2 separate regions of the Homo sapiens genome follow, and region 1 is linked to region 2. The links are contacts of gene promoters, found by promoter capture Hi-C in blood cells and fetal thymus (Javierre and others, 2016). All regions are on one chromosome and are shown on one strand. Each heading gives the region's core, a stretch centred on a gene start or on the middle of the fragment in contact. The rest is flanking DNA. Distances are from core to core; before and after follow the strand shown. Region 1 overlaps RABGAP1L (RAB GTPase activating protein 1 like). Region 2 holds the start of PRRC2C (proline rich coiled-coil 2C).

What was found. The method cuts DNA at HindIII sites, captures the fragments that hold promoters and counts their contacts. A CHiCAGO score of 5 or more calls a contact.
Region 1: a contact is called between a fragment that was not itself captured here and the fragment with the promoter of PRRC2C in region 2, in 1 of 17 cell types (total CD4 T cells). The highest score is 5.3, in total CD4 T cells.

The regions. Positions count from the first base shown.
Region 1 is chr1:174,986,742-174,992,708 of GRCh38, reverse strand. RABGAP1L (RAB GTPase activating protein 1 like) reads right to left here. Exons shown (of 26, transcript NM_001366446.1): 25 at 3,871-4,068; 26 at 1-2,860. The coding sequence ends at 2,708. Among named protein-coding and RNA genes, the nearest start is that of CACYBP, 10 kb to the left of the region's middle. The HindIII fragment of the contact is 8,943 bases long and covers 1-5,967 here.
Region 2 is chr1:171,483,328-171,489,638 of GRCh38, reverse strand. It overlaps PRRC2C (proline rich coiled-coil 2C), which reads right to left and starts at 4,109. Exons shown (of 35, transcript NM_001387844.1): 1 at 3,904-4,109. RefSeq lists enhancers at 3,556-4,304, 4,211-4,520. The HindIII fragment of the contact is 3,004 bases long and covers 1,300-4,303 here.

The DNA of each region.
Region 1 (5,967 bases), core at 1,572-4,071, 3.5 Mb before region 2:
AACATATTGTATGAACAATCATATCACATACCAAATTCTGAATTTTCTTTGTTTCTAGTCTTTACTATTGCTACTGACTCAAAGGCATTGCAGTGAAGGAGAGTTTAGGCTTATGGTACCAACAGGCATACCCAAGTATGATATGGGGCTGGAGAATAAAAAAAAAAAAAATATGTATTGCCCTCGTAATCTTTTGAAAGAGCTAAAAGAAAACTCAAAAGATGGACTTATCAAACTTGAGAGGTATGTACCTGGTGATTTTTCGAGACGGAATTTTGCTCTTGTCGCCCAGGCTGGATGGAATGTAATGCCGTAATCTTGGCCCACTGCAACCTCTGCCTCCTGGGTTCAAGTGATTCTCCTGCCTCAACCTCCCGAGTAGCTGGGATTACAGGCACCCGCCACCAAGCCCGGCTAATTTTTGTATTTTGCAGTAGAGATAGGGTTTCACCATGTTGGCCAGGCTGGTCTCAAACTCCTGACCTTAGGTGATCCACCCACCTCAGCCTCCCAAAGTGCTGGGATTACAGATGTGAGCCACCATGCCTGGCCAGGGGGGATTTTTCTCTTCTCCTCTTTAAAAGGAAAGGGACTATGAAGTTGAACAAGGTCTTTAGATAAGGGATTGACCTAGAGCCATTATGTTTCTCCCTCACCTACTATTATTTAAAGAAAATTACACACTTTAGGCATTCTGTGGAATGTACTTATTTTTGTAAATTGAAACAAGCTCTGTACAGAACTATGAAATTCACAACACAAAAGAGCATCTTTAATTTAGCTGGCCATTTGATAAGGCAACTGCACAAGGCTTCTTGGAATCAAAGCGTAAAGTACCAGTAAAGCTAACAGCCTATACTAAATGATTTACAAAAACAAGCGCCAAGATAACATTTTCTAGCTATTACATTTTACAAAAAAAAAAAAAAAAAAATTAGCTTATCTAGACCACCATGTAGAGAATGTTAAAGCCAACACAGACACTTGGAATGCTGGGTTATGTTCCTTTTTGTTAAGAAAATAAATTTTGTAATGAAAGATGTCAGAACAACAATGAAAGATTTATGTAAGAAAAGTATTATCTGATGAGTATAACATAACAATCACATCAGTTTTATGGGCTGTAGAGAATATAAACACAGATAAAGGGGATTTCACTTTTTAGAACATAAAAGATCATTTTAGAGGAAAAGATCCACTGTGAGCAACTTGGTGCATCCTCCTGGGATGTAGATGGCTCTTATTTGATTCTTCTAAGGGTGTGTTACTTTTAATTGCAAAATATGGCACAGATGAGAATCATTCTGGCACTACAGAGTTTAAGATTCTTTGCAAATAATATGTTCAACAATGAGGCCAATGATTAATATCAACAAATGTTATTGTACATATCTAATAGTAGTTTGGTTGGTTTGAAAGGATCAGAGGCCTCCAAAATAGTTTATAAAATAAAAATAGTTTTGCTCTTATCAAATAATTTCCTGCAAGGACTATTTTTATAGGCATGTTAAATATAATTGAAAAAATATTTCCACTAATTTTTAAACAATAGCTTTACCTTTCCATGAGATAAGTATTTCTGTAAAGGTTTTATATTCAATCAAAAATGTTACAAATGCATTTGTATCTCTTTATGGGTACGAAGGACACATTTTCAGGGAACTACAGAAATCAGAAAAAGTTGCCCAGCATTAAACTAAGATGATGTGAGCCTGACCTCTATTTCCCATTTCAATACTATGTCCTTTAACAAAGTTACAGTATTGTTAGTGTTTCCTTAGCAAGTATATATCAACGTTAAATGAAATACTCTGTCCCTGGTTCTATATTCCACTCTATTCAGCACAATGGCTGAACCTGGGGCTTTTTAGGCGTCTCTGGTAAAGGCTCCCTAAGTCTGTAAGGTGCAATATCCACCTTTAACTTTATAATTGCCAGAAGTCACATCTGTGTCCATACTTTGGTGTACTTAGGAACTCACAAGTCCTATGTGGCATTCTTAAAAGGATCTGTTAGAATACCACAGCCCAAATGATCCTGACCTACACTTATTAAAATTTCAGTTCCTTTTACCTAGCGTATAATCTGAACAGCCCGTCTATTCCTGGCACTTCATTTCCAGATGTACCGAACAGAAAATGAAAGTAAACCAATGATCGCTGATTGGTTCTTTCCTTTGGACAGGATTAACACTTCCCTGGGAATCAGGCTCAGGAGGAAACCTGAGAGTGGTCATGCCTGGCCCCACAGTGTGCTTTATCTGAATAAATCCTGAAAACTTAAGATGTTTAGGTTTCAATTTTTTTTTTCCTGTGACAAAGATCTTCTTATCACTTCAACCTTGGAATAACAGATGTCTCCATTTTTATGTAAGATAAAAATAATTATGAATAATTCTAAATAAAAAAGCATTTAGTTCTGAATTACTTATTTCCAACTAAACATCAGGCAAACAAAATAATGTGTAATACTATGATGGATCTGAACATGGCCTTCCAGAAGCTGGAAAATAGGTATTCAACATAGAACAGGTCAGTTTAAATAGCATCCCTTTGAAAAGTGTCATACAAGAAAGAGTGAGAGCTACTGAAAAATTCTGGCTTGTTTTCTGGCCTCCTTGACTTTCCTTCAAAGGGACACCAGGAAGAATCCTCCCAGATTTCCATTGGTTTGAACATTGTGCTCTTGTGCTTGGGTAAGGCTGGAACTATGTGCTCTCCTTGGGTGGCTGGGTGACCGGTGCTGGCTGCAATGGCTGGGTGCCCGTGGCCGTTTTGATAGAGTTCAGGGTTTTGCTAAACCAAGAGTTTTTCGCAGCTTGGATTTCATTCATAAGGGCTCCTCTCTGATGTTCAAGTTCCTAATTAAAGCAAGAAAATCATCTGAGTTAAATAAATGTTTTCTCTTTGCCAATAAATAAATAAAAGTGTGCAGCTTTTTGGAGTCTCAAGGTATGTGCTGCCAATTTTCCTCCCACAAAACCCAGGAGAGATTGAATTGGCTTCTTAGTACAAGGATAAAGTTAAGAGCTAAAAGACTTATCAAAAATCTAGAATCTGTGCTTTCTTTAAACAGTGAAAGAAAAGCTCATTTTATTCTTTTTTTCCCTGCAAGTTAGGTCCAAATTTAGGTTTAGGTTGCAATCCGATATAACAGGTTTAAAAACCACAAATAAATGTAAACATATGGATGAATTTTTACTGATAGTAGAAGCATGAATGAATTCCAGTTCCAAAGAAATAGGCTTTGCCCTAAGAATGTCCAAGGTCAGAGCAGACACATGGTGGAAGCTGGCTGGTGTGGTGGAGGCTGGTGACATGGCAGCCATGGTGCTGGTAGGGATCACTGGGAAAATGAAATGAAGAAGAGTCCATCAGAAGCCAGGACTATTTCTAATTATATTATGCGCCAATATGGAGAAAGATAATGGGGAAAGAGGTTTGACAAAATGAGCTAAAGATAAAAAGAAGCTCTAAAGGAAAGAACGGGTGTCAGCCAATGTGTGACTCTCAGGGTAGACACAGCAGAGGGGGTTTGGTTTTTCATTTTCAGGATCAGCCACTGAAGTGACCACATTCTGTGAGAAAGGATGTAAGCAAAAAATCTCAGGGTAAAAAAAACAAGCATATGCTTAATTAAATTCCCATAAGATATAATTTTAATTATTAAAATTTCATTTAAAATTATATATTTGTTTATATCAGCGTTAAGAATACATGATATAAAATGTGATTATGCAGGACACATTAGCAGACAGAAAATGTATTCATCATACAATTCTGACCTAGATAGGTGTATTCTGAAGTACTAGAGTATCCTGGACCATTAATTGTTTATTCTTTCTTCTTGTTCTTTTATCAAATCACCAACCTGAATTTTACACTTGGCCTCCACCAACTGCAGTTTGGTTTGTGCCAGTTCCAGTTCCATCTCTCTCAGCTGCTTCTTAAGTGAGTCCTTCTCATCATCTGTTTCAATTCCCTGGTCCTCTCTGCCTGTGGCTGCTAGTTTCAAAGCACCCTCCTTGCTGAAAATGTCACTGCAGTGTTTGCATGCCATCATCTTACCCTAAAGTATCCAAAAGAGATAACCAACATCAAACTATTCCATAGGCTAAATCACCTTCTGAAACAATTTATGACTTTTTTAGATGCTGCTTATTGTCATAGATGCAGGCCCATTTCTGAAGGTTAATTATTTTTCTTGTGCTGCAATCAAAATCATTAGCCCGAACCCAACTATCCAAGACGGGTGCTCCTTTTTCCTGAAGTATCTCTAGAAATACCCTAGAAATAGAAGGTATTGTAGCATCTCTTTGAAATCTGTTCTAGAAATTTTATGCTATCATTATTCTTACTAGATGCCAAGCCCCACACCAAATGCTTTACTTGTAGTATTTCACTTAATCCTAGAGCAACTGTATAAGTAAGCACTATCATCATCCTCATTTCATAAAGAAACTCAGAGTTTAAAGAACTTGCCTGTAGTAGACTGAGGAAGGTCATCATGACTAACCTAAATCTACCCTTGCAACAAAGCACATGTCCTGTTGTTGAATTTTAAGCAAAGAGGACCCCTGTTGCTTAATAAAAGTAACTCCGGCCGGGCCTGGTGGCTCACGCCTGTAATCCCAGCACTTTGGGAGTCCAAGGCAGGCAGATCACAAGGTCAGGAGATTGAGACCAGCCTGGCTAACACGGTGAAACCTCGTCTCTACTAAAAATACAAAAAATTAGCCAGGCATGGTGGCACACGCCTATAGTCCCAGCTACTCGGGAGGCTGAGGCAGGAGAATCGCTTGAACCCGGGAGGCGGAGCTTGCAGTGAGCCGAGATCGCGCCACTGCACTCCAGCCTGGGCGAGAGAATGAGACTCCATCTCAAAAAATAAAAATAAAATAAAATAACTCTACCACATGCCCGCATTGCCAATCGGGCACACAGCACTAAACAACAGCAACTGTTTTCCAGACAATAGTACTGTTGTTTACTTATTTTCAAAAATAATTCAATAGAGATAAAAGATATTACATGCTATTTCTACTTTGATGCCCTACTGCTACAAGCTCAATGTGTCCATCACCGTGCCCATCCTCCTCTCTTCACACACACAAAAAGCAACTCTCCACCACACTTTTGTGCCACTGGGCATGTCTCCACCATTTGGGCCTGACGACTTTGGATCATCTTTTCATTAGCTCCTCTTTCATCCCATGTCCAGCTGACCATTAATTTCTTCCTCTTGGGCCAGGTGCAGTGGCTCATGCCTGTAATACCACAACTTTGGGAGGCTAAGGTGGGTGGATCACGAGGTCAAGAGAGCGAGACCATCCTGGCCAACATGGTGAAACCCCGTCTCTAGTAAAAATACAAAAATTAGCTGGGCATGGTGGCGGGCACCTATAGTCCCAGCTACTCAGGCGGCTGAGGCAGAAGAATGGCGTGAACCCGGGAGGCGGAGCTTGCAGTGTGCCGAGATCGCGCCACTGCACTCCAGCCTGGCGACAGAGCAAGACTCCGTCTCAAAAAAAAAAAAATTTCTTCCTCTGACATGTCTGAGCTCTTGCCATTCCAGGCCAAATCCCTAGGGGTCACCTTCTCAGTACTCACTGGCTTCCTTCTCATCCCATCCATAAACCACTCTTCGTATTCCTTTTCATTAATATTAATTAGACATGTAAAAACAAAACTTGTCACTCTCTTAAGAACCTCTGAGAATAATTAGCCCAGTATAGGCATATTGTAAATATTTGTTGTGTATTTACTGTTGACTAAAAATGTTAAAGAAATAGTTTTGATCTGAGTCTTAAATGATTAAAAGTTTACCAAGCTGGCTAAGTAATTTTATTAGGTTGAACCACCTGAAGAAATAGATTGATCACTTAAGAGGGAGGATGACATTTCAGCAAAGAGAACACCACCATGTGCAAAGACATAGCACCTTCAGATAACTTCAAAGAATTTAAAA
Region 2 (6,311 bases), core at 2,860-5,359:
AGTCTTAGTTTAGTAACATGGCATAGTAAGTGCTCAAGAAATATTAATAATCACAATTATTCTTGATTTTTCTTAGACATCACAGCTTCACTTATAATCAACTAGGAACTCAATCTGTACTATCTGTAATTTTCTGTACCAAATTTCCCTTACCTTCTTATACACCTTTTTATCTTCTGGCATGAATCCAAAGACTACAAGATAACTTTTAACATTAATCCTTAAGGCTGTGAACACCTTGGGAGTGGACCAAATGCCATATTGCTCTGATTCACTGGGCCTTACAAAATTAAAAGAATCTTCAATCTTTGTTGAATAAGCTAAAAATTTTAAAAATCAGATGTAAATAAATCTCACAATGCATATTATTTAACACAAACTCTTCGAAGGTTACCTGTGATACTATTCTTAGAGGTAAAGGAAAAAAAACCTGACAGCATTTTCTTTTGCTCCAATAATATACTTATCAGTTAATCTTGTGGGTCTATTCTTTTGTGTTTCTCACCCTCATTCATTCAATAACATATAAACTCTAGGTATACGCCAACCACCATACAAGGTGATGAGGACATGGAAACAGTCTAGTAGAGGAAAACAAACTAGTATTAGAACACAGAAAACAGAAAAATTACCAGATAGTATGTAGTACATATTGCTATGTAGTATGCTACATACATAATACCCAATAGTTTTTTTAATACTAGACGTGCTCCTCAAATGATATTCCATCTTCCCTTAATGTTGAGCACATAGCAGCACCACACAGGGATGAGTATATCACACTGACTATAATTCACATAATAATTTCATTACAATCTTGTGTTCAGACTCTTAGTTAACAGTCTAAGAGTCTAGTTAATCATGTCTGCCAATCAGATAAAAATTTCCGGTTGAAACTAAGTAACAGTCCTTGTTTGACTGGATTTGCCAGCAAATACATGTAGTCACAGGCCCCAAAACATGCTTTCTGATAATCTGGAGGAAAATAAGGACTAGAAATGTAACTGGCAATGCTGGGAGCAATGGTAGGCACTTCTAGTCCCAGCTACCTGGGAGGCTGAGGCAGGAGATTCTCTTGAGCCCAGGAGTTGGAGGCCAGCCAGGGCAACAGAGTTAGGTCTGTCTCTTAAATAGAAAATTTACTAAAGTTACCCTCTCTATAGAACGCTTTTATCCACAAAGGTGTTCTGGCTCATGCATCGATGAGATTAGCGAGGAATTTAAAATGTTATTACTCATAAAACTAACACAGTAACTCTCAGACTTGTAAGCAACAATTAACATAGACTGAGATAAGCTTTCATTGTGTTGTCCTATTCATAAGGTGACAAAATCACGATTTACCGAAATGAAAGTGTGTCATAACTCAGACACAATTTTTGTATGTCCTTCACTGTAAGAATACAATTCTGTACTAACTTATGTAACATTTTACCAATGATCAATTCTTGTCATTTACAAATATGACATAAATAGCATCCAAAACACAAGTTACCTAACTAACAAACTGAAGTAGTGTTTAGGGGTGGCACTTGGAGGCAGACAGGGATATAATATAATCTTCAAAGACATTTTATCACTAAAGAGGGTGGGGTGGGGGTAAGAAGAAGAGAGGGGGCTGGAATGAGCCAGAACTTCTGCATTTTCAGCTATGAACAAGATACTCATCCCAGGGATATTTACTGTAGAGCATAAAGAAATCGCTAAGAAGCAAAATCCTGCATATAAGTAGACATATCAGGGATAAGGGGAGGTGAAATTTTCTTATGTACCTAAAGAAATATATACATCACCCTGAGAATTTACAGATTATTTATTGCTTGGAAGAGAGTATTTTCTTCTACCAATATCCTACCATTCTCCCTCCACTATTAGTTGACCTTTTACTATGCACTAAGCATAGTAATAAGCCCTTTACATACATTATCCATTATCTTTTTTTACTCCTATAAAAGCCTCTGAGGGAAGTCCTATTATCATCACCATTTTACAGATGAGGGAATATTCTACCAATAATATAGATCAGACGCCTAAATTTAAAAATTATATCTACGACATGGTAGAGTTAGTTTTAAGTTATCTCTAAGCACTCAAATAGAAAAGGACACAAAAAAATTAGCCTCTACCCCAAGTCCAAAGTGGATATATTCCATTTTTACAACTTTCAAAACTTTAACCTTAGCATGCAACAATATTCATATACTAGTCAAGCTAAAGAAAAACTACTAGTTAATAATGCTTTATCTTATTTAGTTACTGTAGTTTATAATTTAAAAAGCAGGTTGAAGGTTTAGAGCATCCCCTTTGGGTTCAGACAGTATGGAATTGAACCTACACAATACCACCAATAACTGCTATGTGACCTTGGTCAGACTACTCTCTCAGATTTCATTTCCTCATCTGTAAAATGGGGATGATCTTAATAGCACTTTTCTCAAAGGTCTGTTGTGGAGATTAAAAAAAAAATGTATGAAAAGGACTTATTACTGTGCTCAGTGTATAGCAAAAGGTCACCTAATGGAGAACAGCCACACATAAGCTAAGCAGAGCAAACACAATCACTTAAAAAGGCTATATTCTGAAAATCCACTTACAGAAAAGGAGAGAATTACTATTTGACTACATGCTAAAGACAAAATTCAAGTTCAATTTATTCCTAATTTTTTAGGGGATCAATGCATTTGGGGTGAGCCAGAAAAGATGCTGCAGTGCATCTGTGACACACACCTAAAAATGGCTCCAGTCAAAGCAGCATCTTAATTACCAATATGGGAGGTGAAATCTAGTTTTGAAAAATGGTGGGGTTAGGCTTGGTAGGTGCTTAGTATCACCCTATTATTTTTATTTGCAGGAGTAAGCTATTAAGTACTCAACAATCAAAAAATCCTCCGATTCTTCTGGTGCATTCCAAATGAAAATCTTACAGCAGAGCCGCCTACTGTACAATTCTAAGTACTCTAACGAGGTATGAATCTATGAACCCAGGCTGAAAACCAGCCAATGCGGAAATCCAGGTAGCTTTATAAGCCAGCAAACATCAGGCATGTCAGACCCTCAAAAGATCCCAAATAATGTCAAAACACACATACATCCCTTTAAATTAAAGGTACTCCTCTCATGCAAAGGAAGGAAGACTCTATCAATGTCTCTATAGTGGCCCCATGCCCTTTTCTTCAGTCCTAAAACGGGGCCTTTACCCTGACACCACCAATATCAACGCTATCTCAAAGACAGGGAGCTACCGAGATTCACCACGCAAGTTAGAGGATGGAGCGGCCTAGAGTGTGAAAAGACTACCCAAATCCTCCTCCGGAGTTGGGCAGCACTTCCCTAGCGGAAGTAGGGTTGGTCTTGATTCCCCGAAGAGCCTCTCATCTAACCAGGTCTTTAAACCAGACCCTCCCATACATTGCTCATTGCAAGTCCCACCCTCACTACACAGGAAGAGGTAGACAGTGAAAGCCCCGGCTGAGTCCTTCAGTTGTTTGGGGAAACGCATACCCGACACTAAAAAAAAAAAAAAAAAAAAAAGACTTCACGTCCGCCAGTCCAGGAAGACGGAAACCCCCTTCGCTTACCCGGCAACATGCGTAATCCCCTCGCAGGGCCAGGACTGGGGTCTAGGTGGGAGCAAGACAGACCGGTCCAGAACTCCCGCTGCAGACCACATGGGGCGGGTCTGACTCCGGTTTCCCGCTCCCCAAGCTGGAGGCCGACTTCCCCAGACACAGAGATGATGGTAACCAAACAGAAGGGAAATGCCCGGACCCAAGGCCCTCTCCACGCGGCCCCCTAGCCTCCGGGCGCCAGGGTCTGGGTGCGCTCCCACGCCCCAGGCCGCACTCTGGCCGTTCCCGATGGGGCCCTCTTTGATCGCGGCCCCCACACCCTCGCTTTCCTTACCGGTCAGGGTGAGTGTCAAGTTTGCGCACTTCGAGGGTCTCCGCCGATCTCTGATCGAAAGAAGGGGGAGGGAAAGCTGGGGTTAAAGGGGTGGCCGGAAGGGCCACCAGACTGGAAAAGCCGAAGCTGCGGATGGACAAACCGCCAAAGCACTTTCGCAGCTTTCCGAGGGGGAGCGAGCGAGCGAGAAAAAGAAGCAAGATGGCGGCTAGCCAGCCCCTACGTACTACGTCATGACGCTAAGTACGTAGGTCAAATCTCCGCAAGACCACACTCCTGCGCAGAGACGGCCGGATCACGTGAAGCCTCCGTGGCGGCCCAACCCCGACAGAGGGTGCTGGCGCTTCCTGCTGGACGGAGGGAGTTTCTGCAATCAGAATTATCTTTTCAGGACAAAGCTTGGACCTGAGACCTTTCTAAGAAGTCTTGAATTGACCACGTTTACAAGTTGATAATAAGCCTCAGTGAAATGAGCACTCTTATGTCTGGTGGGTGGATGTGTAAATGGTTGAACCAGCAGTTCGCCAGTATGTCTCAGTGAATTTGGGGCAAGCTGAGAAGTCTTGGTGTATTGAAAAGTTATCACAGAGAGTGAAAGTAAAACTAGTGTGAGGAACAGAGTAGCATGGGCTGCTGAGAGCACTTTTTAAGTTTCTAATTATGGATGTGAGATAAGCCATTCAGTTTATTTATATGATCTCTCCATCACAGTGTTCAGCTCCGTTGAATAGTAAGATTCACCCATGCTGGCTTTTACTAGGCAAGTGTAACATAGGCAGATGAGTGTATCTGGAAGTGGGAGACTACAATGATGATAATATTATGTCAGAACAGATGGCGAATGTTTAGTAAATGGTATCTTTTGTCCTCTTTGTGAACTACCTATGACATATTTAAAATTCAAGGATTTCTTACCACTTCTGGTCTGAACGATCTTCCCCGCCAGTAGCTGGTGTATGTCCATGGAATTGTCACTGTAGCAATGTTAGAATAAATGAAATAATAAAGAGAGGTAAATTATGAACACCTCCCTCCCCACTAATATTAATTTGAAGTAGAAAAGTCTGGACTTGCTTGGTGGCTCATGCCTGTAATACTAATACTTTGGTAGGTCAAGGCAAAAGGATTGCTTGAGACCAGGAGTTCAAGACCAATCTGGGCAACATAGTGAGACCCTACCTCTGCAAAAAAATTAAAAAGAAAAAAAGCTAGCTAGGCATAGTGGCACATGCTTATAGTCCTAGCTACCTGGGAGGCTGGAGGCAAAAGGATCACTTGAGCACAGGAGGTTGAGGCTGCAGCGAGACTCTTTCTCGAAAAAATAGAAAAGAAGAAAAGAAAAAGTTTTTTTATTGATATAGGGTCATTGCCAGGGGAAAGCCTACTGATCATCCACAAGAGGACAAGGAAGCATTACTTTAGTGAATTTCTACAACCTTCTAGGATCTGGTCTATAGTGTCCTGGTCACAGAAACATCTTTCTTTGTTTTTTTGGAGGCAGGGTCTCACTTTGCTGCCCAGGCTGGAGTGTAGTGGCATAATCACAGGTCACTGAAGCCTCAACCTCCCAGGCTCAAGCAATCCACCTGTCTCAGCCTCCCAGGTAGGTGGGACTACAGGTGCTTGCCACAAAACCTGGCTTTTTTTTTTTTTTTTTTTTTTTTTTGCCAGTAGAGACGAGGTCTTGCTATGTTGACTGGGCTGGTTTCGAACTCCTGAGCTCAAGCAAGCCTCCCGCATTGGCCTCCCAAAGTGCCGGAATTACCGGCATGAGCCACCACGCCCAGCCAAATCATCTGTCTTGAGCAATGGAGAACAACTTCAGCAATCAGATGAAATTACATTAACCAAGGTCATAAGACTGACACGTATGGCCGGGCGCGGTGGCTCACGCCTGTAATCCCAGCACTTTGGGAGGCCGAGGCGGGCGGATCACAAGGTCAGGAGATCGAGACCATCCTGGCTAACACGGTGAAACCCAGTCTCTACTAAAAAATACAAAAAAAAATTAGCCGGGCGTGGTGGCGGGCGCCTGTAGTCCCAGCTACTCAGGAGGCTGAAGCAGGAGAATGGCGTGAACCCAGGAGGCGGAGCTTGCAGTGAGCACAGATCCTGCCACTGCACTCCAGCCTGGGCAACAGAGCGAGAGAGCGAGACTCTGTCTCAAAAAAAAAAAAAAAAAAAAAAAGACATGTATTAAATTATTAATTTCTAAGAGCTTTAATTTATACACCTGAACACTCAACAACTGCAAAGCCAATACTTTTTTTTTCTTTTTTTCTTTTAATTTTTGCCAGAAACAGAAAGCCTCCGGTATGCCAGCATGGACCCAAGGTGCTATCTTTTCTTGAGTACATTTTCTCATTTCCCTCCCCTCCCCTCCCCTCCCTCCCTCCTTCTCCCCTCCC